Linked DNA regions of Homo sapiens: all the other regions are linked to region 1. Evidence: promoter capture Hi-C in 16 types of primary human blood cells and fetal thymus (Javierre and others, 2016). All regions are on one chromosome and are shown on one strand. Each heading gives the region's core, a stretch centred on a gene start or on the middle of the fragment in contact. The rest is flanking DNA. Distances are from core to core; before and after follow the strand shown. Region 1 holds the start of CHRM3-AS1 (CHRM3 antisense RNA 1). Region 2 has its middle 250 kb from the start of LINC01139. Region 3 has its middle 230 kb from the start of LINC01139. Region 4 has its middle 270 kb from the start of LINC01139.

Region 1 (3,262 bases), core at 119-2,618:
CTTACACTCTGCTGTTGCTTTTAAATGCGGAGAAGGTTGGAGGAAAAAGAGGTCGCATCTGATAATATTGATCAGACTCAAAGAAGATGCGTGCCTCATGCCCTCCTGTCTGGTGCCCAGAGGTGGCAGCTGCTCAGAGGTCACTAGGTCACCATGGCAGAAGCACCGATGACCTGAATGCCTGTGGTAATGAATTCTTCCTTAGTCTTGCCTAAGACGTAAACTCAGCTGGGCGAACACCTTGATTTCAGTGTTGAGACCCTGAACAGGGAACCTTGTTGTAAGCTGCTAAGTTTGTGGTGATTTGCTATGCAGAATGGGGCCACAACAGGCAGCTTCGAGGCAAGTTATACAAAAATGAAATGACTGATCTTGCTCGCCTGAATACGATGGATTAAAAATATTATACACACTTTACATGTAAATGAGCAATGTATTGTCTCACACATAAGAAATCCTAGTTCTACTTGGGTTGTGGATTTTCTCCCCTCATTGCTGTAGGGGCCTTTCTTGCCTTCGTCCCTCCAAGGGAATATTCAGCACCTGCCATACCTCTTCTGAGCACACTGTCTTTTCTCGACAGCCCAGGTGAGGTACATTCCTGGTGCTCCCCAATCTATTCATATCAAGGCTGTACCCAGCTTTATCAAGGAAGACAATGTCCCTATAGGGCCAGGAAACAAGATCCCTCCCACCTTCTTTCAGACATTTTCTATGAACTTCTCCGAGGCCTTGGGGCCACGGCCTCATTAAAAGGACTGTTCTCTGGAGGCTCAGCAACGGAGGTCCTATCGGTACCCAGGATGACAACAGGAGAAAGTGATCAGCCGGTCATAAGGATTTCAAAAAAAAAAAAAAAAAAGAATATCTAAAAGTACTTATTAGAAATGAGAGTCACCAAATGTTTTACTTCAGGTATATCTATTATTTCATAGGTAATATGTAACTTCCTGAGAATCAAGACTGTAGGTCAGACCCAAATGAAGCAGTGATAACCCCGGGCTAAGAGCCCTCAGTTTACGGTGATTTTCTGAGTAGAAGGTATCATTCCTATGTTTAATATTCCTTCCTCATCCTGACTCAACAGCTATTCCATAGCATTAGGATATTTTGAGTCAAGGAAGTTCACAGTCTACACTCATTGAATTGAATGATATTGGTGAGGGGACCTACAGGAAGTCTTTCCTTGTAATGCTCAGGAATAAACAGGTGGTGGGAACAGAGATCCTTGTCAGCCCAGTGACCTTCGCACTTTATAAGTAATCCCAGGCAAGAGTTCTAGGAATGCAGCCTGCATGAGGGCTCAGGGCATGGTCAGATAGGGGCAGACCAGGGGCAGGTGCCTGGCTCCTCTCTGGGGTCAGAGCAGGCTCCCTCCCTGCCAGGTTGTGGGTGCAACATTCAGGGAATGGTTACTGAAGTGTTCCAGGCACCAGAGCTCAGGCAAGAAGTGGAAAACTGCGCAAGATCCTGCACGTGGGTACCATCAGTGCCTTTGTGGGGAAGTTACATCTGTGTGTATGTATATATACTTAGTATATATATACGATATACTTAGTGTACTTATATCGTGTATATATACTATGTACTTAGTATACTTACTTATATACAATGTACATATACTTAGTGTATATATACATTGCATGTTGAACTTACTATATATATACACACACACTACACACACACACTAATTGGTCCGCTAATTGGCTGTTGCATTTTGAACTTGGTATGTGTGTATATATACATGTGTGTGAGTATATATACACACATATATACGTATGTATATACATATCATATACATACATGTGTATAGATATGTGTGTATATATGTATATGTGTGTATATGTATATGTGTTTATATATGTATATATGTATTTATGTATATATACACACACACTAAATTCAATAGATATATATGCGTGTGTGTATATACACACACACACACACACACACACACACACACTGAGTTCAAAATGCAAGAGCCAATTAGTGGGCCAATATGAGAATTAAAAAAGAAAAAAATGTACAGCAAATTGAATAGGACGTATCAGAATGCATACCACATAATGACAATCAATATCACTTCATTAAATTTTTGCTCGACATACACACACGTATAAAATTATGTCTATAGTCATGATGTACGTACAATGTATTTTGTGTTGAATAATGTTGGAAAGCCACTGCAGTGGATATTTTGACATCTTTTATTAATATTTAAAAGAAGAGGGTGAAACAAAAAATGTGAAAAAAGACAAAAAAGTTTGACAGTACTGAATTTAGGAGAAATTGAAGGTTAGTTCTAGGAAATTTGCCTTCTTCCCCCTAGTTATGGCAAAAAATAACTTTTCTGGGGTTATAAGTCTGTGAAATATATAGGTAAATTTAAAAAATTTAAAAATGTGTAAATATCCAGTGTGAAATACATGTGAGATTGCTTACAGAAACGGACAAGGCCAATATACATGTGAGGCTTCTGGTTATAATGAATTCCAAGGAGATAAACTCATTTCATGTCCTCTGAGCCAACCGGGCAGTACCTACTTGGGAAAAATGTTTGAGGGCTCTCGATTTTTAAACCTGCTGAACCAATTAAAAGCGTATAAATTTTTCTAGAAGTCTAAATTAATTCTACGTCTATAATAATAATTATTTTTTTAAGTGATGATATGGGAAAAACCCAAAATATCTTTGCAACATACAGCCGTGCGTTTTTTCTCAGACCAACTATTTAGTGCCTCTTCCCTATTTGTAATCCAGTCTGCGTCATTTTTCAGGGCTTGTTTTGGGTCTCTGACTGCCTTCTTTGCTTAGAGTGTCTCTGTTTTCTGTCATAATTCACTATAGCATTCAACGGCTAAAATGACTTTTAAAACTACCTGGTGAATGGCAATACCACATCAAACCACTAGGTGGCAAAGCAGACTCGGAGAACGACCTCTCTGCCAGCAGGCGCTGAAGCAGCTACCCGTTCCCCATGCTGGTGACCAGGAACTTCAGCTTAGCTCAGTCATGCAGTTCGCGGAGGATATCAAACAGAGTCAACAAAGCTTTGCAATCAAACGTGTCTTTAAAGGGAATCCAACTTGTGAACCTGGCTCTTGATATTCATTTGAAGCTGCAAGGGGGAAAAGATGTTACCTAATATGGAGCAATGGCTCTTATTGTGAACAAAACATCTCTGAACACCAAAACCGGAATAAAATTCTATTTAAAAAGGGGAATTTTTTTTTTAGAAAGTTGATTTATCTTGCTGCCTCCT
Region 2 (3,393 bases), core at 124-2,623, 1.7 Mb after region 1:
GTATACTTCCATGCACCCTATCCTATCTTTTGTATTATTATGTTGCATATTTTATTTTTATATTTGCTATACAGCCCACAATGCATATTGTTAATATTTTTCCTTCAATACTGTGAAAGTGTCACCCAATTTTCTGTTGGCTTGCTTAGTTCCTGATAAGTCTGCTCTCATTCATAACTCTGTTCCCTTTCTGTAATATGTCCTTTTCCTTGAGCTACATGTAAGACTTTTCTCTTTATTGCTAGTTTTTAGAAATTTGATTGTGATTCTCCTGAATTTGTTGTTATTTTTCTATATAGAGTTTCTGAGCTTCTTGAATCTGTGGTTTTACAGTTTTTATTAACCTTGGTAAATTTGGGACCATTATTTTTAAAACTATATTTTCTTAACCTTTCATGCTGGTACTCCAGCTTCATAAATGATTGCCTGTTTTATATGCCACAGCTCACTGAAAATTGCTTTACTTTTTTTTTTTTGAGACGGAGTCTCACTCTGTGGCCCAGGCTGGAGTGCAGTGGCACGACTTCACCTCAATCTCTGCCTCCCAAGTTCAACTGATTCTCTTGCCTCAGCCTCCCGAGTAGCTGGGGATTACAGGTGCCCGCCACCGCACCCAGCTAATTTTTGTATTTTTAGTAGAGATGGGGTTTCGCCATGTTGGCCAGGCTGGTCTCGAACTCCTGACCTCAGATGATCCACCCGCCTCGGCTTCCCAAAGTGCTGGGATTACAGGTGTGAGCCACCGTGCCCAGCCACCAAAAGGTATTTTTAAATGGAAAATTCATTAATAACAAAAAGGAAGAAAAAAAGAAAACCATAGAAAACAATACAAATAGTTTACAAAGGATTTTCAAAGTAAATCTTTGAAAATATATACACAGTTGACCCTCGGAACAACACAGGTTTGAAAGTGCAGGCCCACTTACATGCAGATTTTCTTCTGCCTCTGCCACCTCTGAGACAGCAAGATCAACCCCTCCTCTTCCTCCTCCTTCTCAGCCTTCTCAATGTCAAGACAAGGAGGATGAAGACCTTTAGGATGCTCAACTTCTACTTAACGAATGGTAAGTGTATTTTCCCTTCCTTGGGATATTCTTGGTAACATTTTCTTTTCTCTAGCTTACATTTTTGTAAAAATATAGTATACGATGCATAACACATAAAAATATGTGTTAATTGACTATGTTATTGGCAAGTCATCTGGTCAACAGTAGGCTATTAGTAAAGCTTTAGGGGAATCAAAAGTTATATTTGAATTTCTGACGGTGTGGGAGGTATATTCCATTCTAGCCAAAAAAAAGAGACTCGTAGGTTATAACTGGGCTGTCTGCTTTTCCACTCTATCCCTGGCTGAAACTCATCCCCTTCTCACCACTGAGAAACACCCTTTGAGCATCCTAATAATGCTTTGTCACTTTACTTACTTAATGTCTTCATACCTAATTCTACTTCTTAAACTTTTCATATACAGAAGCTGAATGGGATTATGGTGTCTGCCACAAAGAAATATAAAAGCTTACAGCCCATATCCCATTTTCATGTGGTAGGGCACAGTCTAGTCTCCAATTTACACTGAGATTGCACCTTAATGATAACTTTTGTGTAAATATTATATTCATATACTAATCAGGGTTTTATTATCTCACAATACCTCCTTCCACACTGCCCACTGGAAATGTGATCTAATAACAGACAAGATCATTGACCACATCAATATTCCATATTCATTTCTTCTTTTTCTAAATGTGTGCAATGGTACCCAATAAGAAAATAATATTGTTCTTATGCCTAGAAATTAAAGCATAATTCCCAAAGAAACCATGACCCTTAAGAGAAACATAGGATTTGCCTGCCCTGGAGTTGTTGGATTTCTTTGTTTTTGTTTTTGCCTTTAAGAATGGCATATCATTGTCTATTGCTATTGTATCAAATTACTACAAATTTAGAAGCTTAAAACAACATGAATGTACAATCTCAGAACTTTGCAGGTCAGAGGTCTGCATTGGCTTGACTGATTTCCTTACTCTGGATGTCAGCCAGCCTGGGCTCTTATCTGGAGGCTCTTGGGGAGAATCCACTTCCAAGCTGCTCATTCAGGTTGTTGGCAGAATTCAGTTCCTTGCAGTTATAAGGCTGAGGTTCCATTTTTTTTTTTTTGCCTGCTGTTGTCACATGGGAGTCTCTCCCAGCTCCTCCAGGCAGCCTGCATTCCTTGTCCCATTGACCTCTCCATCTTCAGACAAGCAATGGCACAGGGCTGAGTTCTCTTCATGCTTTGGATTTCTCTGACTTCCTCTTTTGCTGTGTCTCTTCTACTCCAGAGAACCAGAGAAAGTTCTCTGTTTCTGATGACTCCACAGATTAAATATGGCCTACCTGGAGAATCCAGGATTTTCTCCCTATTTTAAGGTCTGTGACCTTATTTATATTTGCTAAGTCCTTTTTGCCCTGTAAGGTAACATATTTGAAGTTTCCAGGGATTAGGGCATTAACTTCTCTTGTTGTGGGGGGAGTGGGTGGGTGTATTTTGTTCACCATAAGTGGACACATATTATTAGTCTTATTCTAAGCATGTAAATGTTTGATATAGAATAGGAAAGTTAGTGAGGCCACAGGAGAAACTGAGAATGAGGCTTGGAAGGAAGACAATTATTGCACCTGGAGGTCCCAGTGATACAATGATAGAGGCAGGAGGCAGGGAAATTCTAGGTAGAAAAGGGCGGGTCCCTGAAAAAATCCCACCCTCAAGTGTGATACCACAGCCCAAAGTGAAAACTTATATCCCTGTTTTCCCACACGAATGTTGCCTTTTCCAAAACCATCCATGGCCTGCCCCACCCCTCATCTTGTGCCCATAAAAATCCCAGAACTCAGTTGGCAGAGAAGAGAAGTCACTGGACATCAGACGCTACGGTTGGATGCCAGAGAGAAGTAGCTTGACTTGAGAGGGACAGTTTGATGGCATAGCTTCAGAGAGGAGTCTGGCTGGGGACAGCCGGACTTCAGGGGAAGATTACCTTCCTACTCCGTCCCCTTTTCAGCTCCTCTTTCTGCTGATAGCCATTTTCATCAGCAATAAAATCCCTCATATTTACCATCTTCAATTCGTTTGTGCAACCTCATTCTTCCTGGATGTTGGACAAGAACTCAGGGGCCAAGAATGTGGATGCAAAAGGCTCTCACACTAACCCTTTGCTCTCGCTGGTGGAAGGCAGCTGCCTCACATGAAAAGGCAGAGGGTCCACTGAGCTGTTGTCAGTTAAGTTGTCCATGGATGGCCAAGCTAAAAGAGCACTGTAACACTTCCTCTGGGGCCTCAGGAGGCGCAGGTACCTCCCAGATGCTGCTGCAGGGCTGCTACAGAGTTGGCTCAAGCCGGCACCCAAAAGCACT
Region 3 (3,154 bases), core at 635-3,134, 1.6 Mb after region 1:
AGTTATGATATAATTTACTGCTTCTTGAATACAAAAATCAAAATAATGTCAAGGACAGACATGAAAAGGTTACTTGTAGTGGTGAAGTGCAGAAGGGAAGGAAACAGGTGTGCAGCAGCTGGCAATGAGGGCTCTGCTATGGCCATTGGAGGACATCTGTCCAGATGGCCAGGGAATGATGTTCAAGAATACGATACAATGAAAATGGAAGGCAGGAAAGGCAAATTGGAATAAAAACATACAGCCACAATGGAGGCATCTACATGGCAGGCAGAGTATGACACTGAGGACGGGCATCTCAGTCTGTTTCTGACTCATTTGACTTCACCATGAATGGAAAGTAGCACTTTAGGTAGTGGGGGGAAAAATAGACTCCTAGATGTTCAGAACTCCTAGATTCATGCCTTATCTCTGCCACTGATTCACCAGTGTCATTTTGAGCTGGTCTTTGACCATCTTGCCTCTCAATGTCTTGGAATCTAATGAAAGAATAATATCTGCTACCAATGGCTGGGAGGACAAAATGAAATTAAAACTGTAATCCATTGTATAAATACAATTTTGCATGCTTATTCTATCACTCATTAGTATGAGTAAAGTATTATGATGTTATTGAAACTAAATTCTAAAGATACAAGACAGAGTAAAGGTAAAGGGATTTACGCTATGACACTTTTTCATTAGTAAATGCAATTATATAGTCAAGCCCTAACTAGTTCATATGACTCATGTTAGAATTAATAGGGAAAACTCTTTCTTTAATTCTCTTAGTTTATTATGTGGAGGATATTTTTATTTCATAGTCTTATTAAGTTCAGGCAGAATAACCACAACACCACATCACTGGCTCATTTACTGCCCAATTTAAAATTATTACTTCTATCAAATTTATATTCTTACATACAGGGAATTTAGCTTTCTTCTCTCATTACAAGAAAAAAGAGATATTTCAAAATAACATTTTTCTTTTCTACTATCCAAAAATCTCAAAATATATGAAAGAAAAAAGGATAGAGAGACACTAGCTGCTTCCACTGGCATTCATCTTTTTTTGGATTTGAACATTACTCATGAAGCTCATTTGCATTCAATAAAGAGTGACACATTCTCCTAAAAGGAACTGCCGTAACACAAAGAGCTACAATAAGCTCATTCCATGTAGAAAACCAAAGTCCCATTTTTCCTCAATACTCATCTACCGAACAAGGTCAGGAAAATGTTGAAAGCAATTTCACATTTATTTGTTCCAGATAAATGGTGAAATAAAATGTGACAGGAGTGAGAAAGACAGAATAGAAAAATCAGATGGAGTGAGACTGTCAAATCTCGGCTATATTTTCTATGTTCCGAGTATAAAGTAATTGTGGTTTTTTTCCTTGACATTTCACTCCATAATTAAACAGGTGTCTAATATTCAAATACAAACTTCCAATTTCCGAGATGATTTCTTTTCATATGTGGTTAACAGTTTGGGCGAGATGTATCATACATTTCATTCTTGCATATGATTTCCCCCCTGGGAGGAACTTACTTGTGTTATTCAGAGGCTCACAGTTACAAATGTCAGCCAAGGCTGTTTCAGTTGGTTACAACAAAATACAAAGAGCAGCACATTCCTGGGGCTCAGCCCCACGCATCAGGTTGGATTTCCTCTGCTGCACAATTATCTCCTATAAAACTGAGTCTTGGTCCATTACCTACATAGCCATGGGCCACACAGGACACACCATAATAAAGGTAATTCAACAGGCTCACTTAACAAATATTCATGAGTGTCTCCTATAAGGTAAGCACTGTGCTGAGTACTACTAGAAATGTGCCCATGGATAAGACAGATGGAACTTACATTCTAGGAAAAGATGGAAGGAAGGAAAGAAGGAAGAAACAAAGTAGCTACTTTGTGATCTAGAGAAGAAGGCACTGATGAGTGGCATGAGCATACAAATAAAGAACTGATGTGAATAATAGAAGGAGATTTCTCCTAGATAGAATGGTTAGCAAACATCTCTCTGAAAAAGGAATATTTACGCTGAAAACTGATGTTTGGAAATTAGTTAGCTATTGCCACTATTTTCATGACAGTTTACATTTTATACTCTATTAGTTCTTCGGATATTATATCTAGCGTGTCAAATAAAGCCAGGTCTTCTTCGTTGAGACAACACAAATTTGGAATGTGAGCACAGACTAGACGCATAATGAAGTTTAATTTGATTCATAAAAGGCAGTGTGCCTAGAAAATGAACATGATAAACAAGATAAAAGATTGTATTAATGCCTTTGGAAGACATTTGAAATGCTGATAAGAAGTAAACAAACAAATTGGAGGCTAACTACAAATATTTACTATGCAAATTTTGGTTGGTTTGCTTGAGTTGCCACAAAGATTAAATATCTTCAATATCCAGAAGGACACCCTACCTTTGGTGAGGCCTATTGGTCGCCTTTCCCCGTCCATTGTCCCTACCACCAGCTATAACGCCAGATTTCTATAGAGGATTTCATAATGTGTAGGAGAAATATATATTTTCTGATGTGAAACCCATGATCTAGGTGAGGCCAATTAGAGCACTCCACTCCCCCTGGACAAAAGTAAATTTAGGGTTAGCCCCATCATCTAAACGGATGCAATGAGTGAAGTTTGAGGACTTTTCTCTGTGTTTGGGAGCCCAGATGCTCACCCTCTTTATGACTGGTGTGATATGTAGCAGTGAAACAGAAACCACTGTAACTATTTTATTATATACGTGAAAAGAATACAAGAACAAGGGAAGAGCCTAGTGAATTGGAGATATGAGCTGGAGCCTTAATCAAACTACTCTGAAACTTGTACCACTTGTACACGTTTCAGTTATTAGTCTCTGAGTGGAGCCAACGATTTCTACGATTATTTAACACAACTGAGTTATGTTTGCTATTTAAAATGTCTTATCTGTATTCACGACCTAGCCTCTTGTTAGGAGTCTTCTCCATATTTAAACTAACTGTCCCTTCTGATAACTCTGGTTCCCCTGTGTAGCCAACTGGATTTTTTCTCCAGCTTTACACTTTATTTCCATCTCCGTGGCCTGTGAAGGTTATTAGACCCTCCTACCATAAGGAATTGCTCAGCGAGGCAGCATCATAACCCAAATGAATGAACAAACCAGGCTGA
Region 4 (3,083 bases), core at 322-2,821, 1.7 Mb after region 1:
AAGAATGTTTTACGTTTAGATGGCAGAGGATCTTCAATGCATGACCAAAAGGTTTAGTGTTCAACAAATGAGCCGAAGACAGTCAGTGAAGTGTTCAGATCACTGAGTGAAGTGAGCACAGCTGTCTGCATGGGCTTCTCCTCATGCTGGCACGAGCCATAGATTGTTGTGAAGAAAAGCCATTCAGCAGTGGGTTTGTGTCTATGTGGCACTGATCACAAGAAATTGGGTGCTAATAGTGTTGAAATGTACAAGAAAGGCAACGTGTGTCTGCCTGTGTATGCACAGATATATGCATGTAGTTGGCACAGAGCTGTTACAGGTATAAGGAAGAGATTAGTGGCCAGGCACGGTGGCTCATGCCTGTAATCCCAGCACTTTGGGAGTCCGAGGCAGGTAAATCACCTGAGGTCAGGAGTTCAAGATCAGCCTGGCCAACATGGTGAAATCCCGTCTCTACTAAAAATATAAAGATTAGCTGGGTGCGGCAACAGGTGCCTATAATCCCAGCTACTGGGGAGGCTGAGGCAGGAGAATCACTTGAACCTGGGAGGCAGAGGTTGCAGTAAGCCGAGATCATGCCACTGCACTCCAATCTGGTGACAGAGCGAGACTCCGTCTCAAAAAAAAGAAAAAAAAGAAAAAAGAAAAAAAAAGAAGAGGTTAGTTTAGTTTTTGAATATTGGAGGTTTGGGAGAAATTAAAAATAAATTACTACATATTATATATTACATGGTCACAGTTTTGGGGATTAGGTTCTGGACATCTTTGGGGTGAGAAGGGCAGCATTTTTCATGTGCCACGTAGTATCCTTGGTGGTTGAGGCCGGGAATCTGCATTTTCATGATGTCTCTAAGTGACCCTGTGCAAGTACAAAGGCCTACAGATTATTTTAAGGCTTAAGCAGTCACAAGATTTTAAAGCCAGGCTTGTGGTCTCTTTAGCAATGTGAATCCCTCTAAAGTTTAGTAGATTTCCTCTGTGCTTCCAATCAGTTCCATGTTTCATTATCCATAATCAAATTACCTTTCTGGAAAAAGATAATAGGTCTTCTCTATTATCCTGATTTTTTTTTGCCCCATCTCTACCTTTCTAGTTCTCACCTTAATGGCAGCTACTTTAAAACCATCTAAAACATAGGCTGGTAAAGAGAGAAAGCTTCCTTAACTCCCACTGTTTGGAAGTTCAAAGTACTTTGTTTTCCAATTGTGTAAGGCCCCAAATATCTCTACTCTTTATTTCTTCTTCCACAAACCTGCAAATTCCCACTTCACCTCACCTTAGATGTAATGCCTTACTAAAGTAAAAAGTAAAAGTCCATACTACACTTTCCAACCACTTCTCCTAGAGTCACCCAGCCTGCCTTGCAAGTTAGTACACGTGACTGTTTTACTAAACATTAGACCAAACTTTGTCAACTTTTCAGAGTATGATATCCATTTCCACTTTCAGTTATCCATATTGTTATTGTTAGAGCAGCGGCTTATATAAAAATGCCTATTTCTGTATATTAGGCAAGACTGTAGCAGCAAATGAACCTAAAATACCTGTGTGTCTTATTACAATAGAAATTTATTATTTTACGATACTCTGCTGCAGGTTTTCCAGGTCATCAGTGGTTTTGCTCCAAATGGTGATTTAGAGACCTACATCTCATCCACCTGTGGCTCCATCATCTTTGAGTTCTATCTAATAGAATCTGAGTGGAAATGACTGTCATTTTGTGTGTCTTCTCCTGATCTCTTCTCCTTCTACTATTTATCTTGATCTGCATCCACTCAGTAGAACTCAATGACATGAGTTGGGTCTCACATCTAAGTTCAGTTGAAGCAGGGAAATGTAATCTATTCGTATTCCAGTAGAAGAAATAGATTCGTTTTAGATTTTGGTAAACAACTAACAGTCTCTATCATATCACCAAATGATTATTTATATGTCTTCATTTAGGGTATTTGCTGCAGCTTTTAAGTAATAGAAAGCTTGATTCCGCAAATGTAAATCTACTTACGTACATTTCACATAGTCCCAGACACATAAAGAAATTTGGCAAATCTATTCTGATTTTTTTTAAGAATTTGGGTCAGACTCTTCTTTCTAAAAACATAGTGAAAAAAGCTTCTCAGTCTGGTCTCCAAAAGCATTCTTCCTGACAGTCCCATCCCCACTACCCCCATAGACTACTGAAGTCTGTTGCTCTACAGAGAGTTCTCTCAACTATTGGAACTCTTCAGAAACAAAATTCGCAACACATCTGCAATTAGAAAGGGTCCTTCCAGCTGATCCAGGTCCTTACTTTCCCCTTTGAGTTAGTCCCAGGTGTTCTGTCGGTTCTAGTATAGAGTTAGGGATTGGGAATTTGCTTGGGATACCACCATGTCTCAGCATCTGCCCTCTGTCTAACCTTTTGAATCACTTGTTTCTCTACACACAGTGTTAGTTTTTCACGGCTTTTGTAACAAACAATCACCAATTTAGTTTTTAAGAGAAACTTATTCTCTCACCATTCTGGGACTTGAAGTTGGAATCAGTATCACTGGGCTGAAATCCAGGTGTCTGCAGGGCTTCACTCTCTTCAGAGGTCTAGGAGAGGCTCTGTCCATCCCCTTGCTTTCTTTCAGTTCTGGTGACTTCCAGCATTCTTTTCGTCTGTACCACATCACTCCAATCTTCAAGTCTCTTGCTTTGTCTCTGCATGGTCTCTGAGGAGGACTGAGGGGAAAATCTGTTGCCTGCTTCTTCCAGCTTCAGGTGGCTGTTGCTATGTCTTGTTGCATTGCCACATCAGCCCAATCTCTGCCTCTATCTTCACATTGCCTTTTTCTCATCTGTCTATGAAATCTAGCCTGCCTCTCTCTTATAAGGACACTTGTGATGGCATTCAGGACCCACTAGGATAATCCAGAACACTTGCCCCATCTCAAGATCCTTAGCTTAATCGCATCTGCAAAGACCCTGTATCTCAAGTAAGGTAACAGATAGTTTCCAGGGATTAGGACCTGATATCTTTCGGGAGACCATTTTTCAATCTACTACATATATACCCAATGTCAAACTTTTTTTCAGTGGAACTGGAATACAAGAAG

The links. The method cuts DNA at HindIII sites, captures the fragments that hold promoters and counts their contacts. A CHiCAGO score of 5 or more calls a contact.
Region 2: a contact is called between a fragment that was not itself captured here and the fragment with the promoter of CHRM3-AS1 in region 1, in 1 of 17 cell types (total B cells). The highest score is 8.8, in total B cells.
Region 3: a fragment that was not itself captured here is called in contact with the fragment with the promoter of CHRM3-AS1 in region 1 in 1 of 17 cell types (naive B cells); the score reaches 13.4 in naive B cells.
Region 4: a fragment that was not itself captured here is called in contact with the fragment with the promoter of CHRM3-AS1 in region 1 in 1 of 17 cell types (naive B cells); the score reaches 6.7 in naive B cells.

Annotation. Positions count from the first base shown.
Region 1 is chr1:239,897,978-239,901,239 of GRCh38, reverse strand. It overlaps CHRM3-AS1 (CHRM3 antisense RNA 1), which reads left to right and starts at 1,368. Exons shown (of 2, transcript NR_046582.1): 1 at 1,368-1,476; 2 at 2,848-3,221. The region is part of intron 6 of CHRM3 (cholinergic receptor muscarinic 3); the gene reads right to left. The HindIII fragment of the contact is 7,774 bases long and covers 1-3,052 here.
Region 2 is chr1:238,234,655-238,238,047 of GRCh38, reverse strand. No RefSeq gene overlaps it. Among named protein-coding and RNA genes, the nearest start is that of LINC01139, 250 kb to the left of the region's middle. The HindIII fragment of the contact is 288 bases long and covers 1,230-1,517 here.
Region 3 is chr1:238,253,587-238,256,740 of GRCh38, reverse strand. No RefSeq gene overlaps it. Among named protein-coding and RNA genes, the nearest start is that of LINC01139, 230 kb to the left of the region's middle. The HindIII fragment of the contact is 9,275 bases long and covers 1-3,154 here.
Region 4 is chr1:238,218,932-238,222,014 of GRCh38, reverse strand. No RefSeq gene overlaps it. Among named protein-coding and RNA genes, the nearest start is that of LINC01139, 270 kb to the left of the region's middle. The HindIII fragment of the contact is 821 bases long and covers 1,161-1,981 here.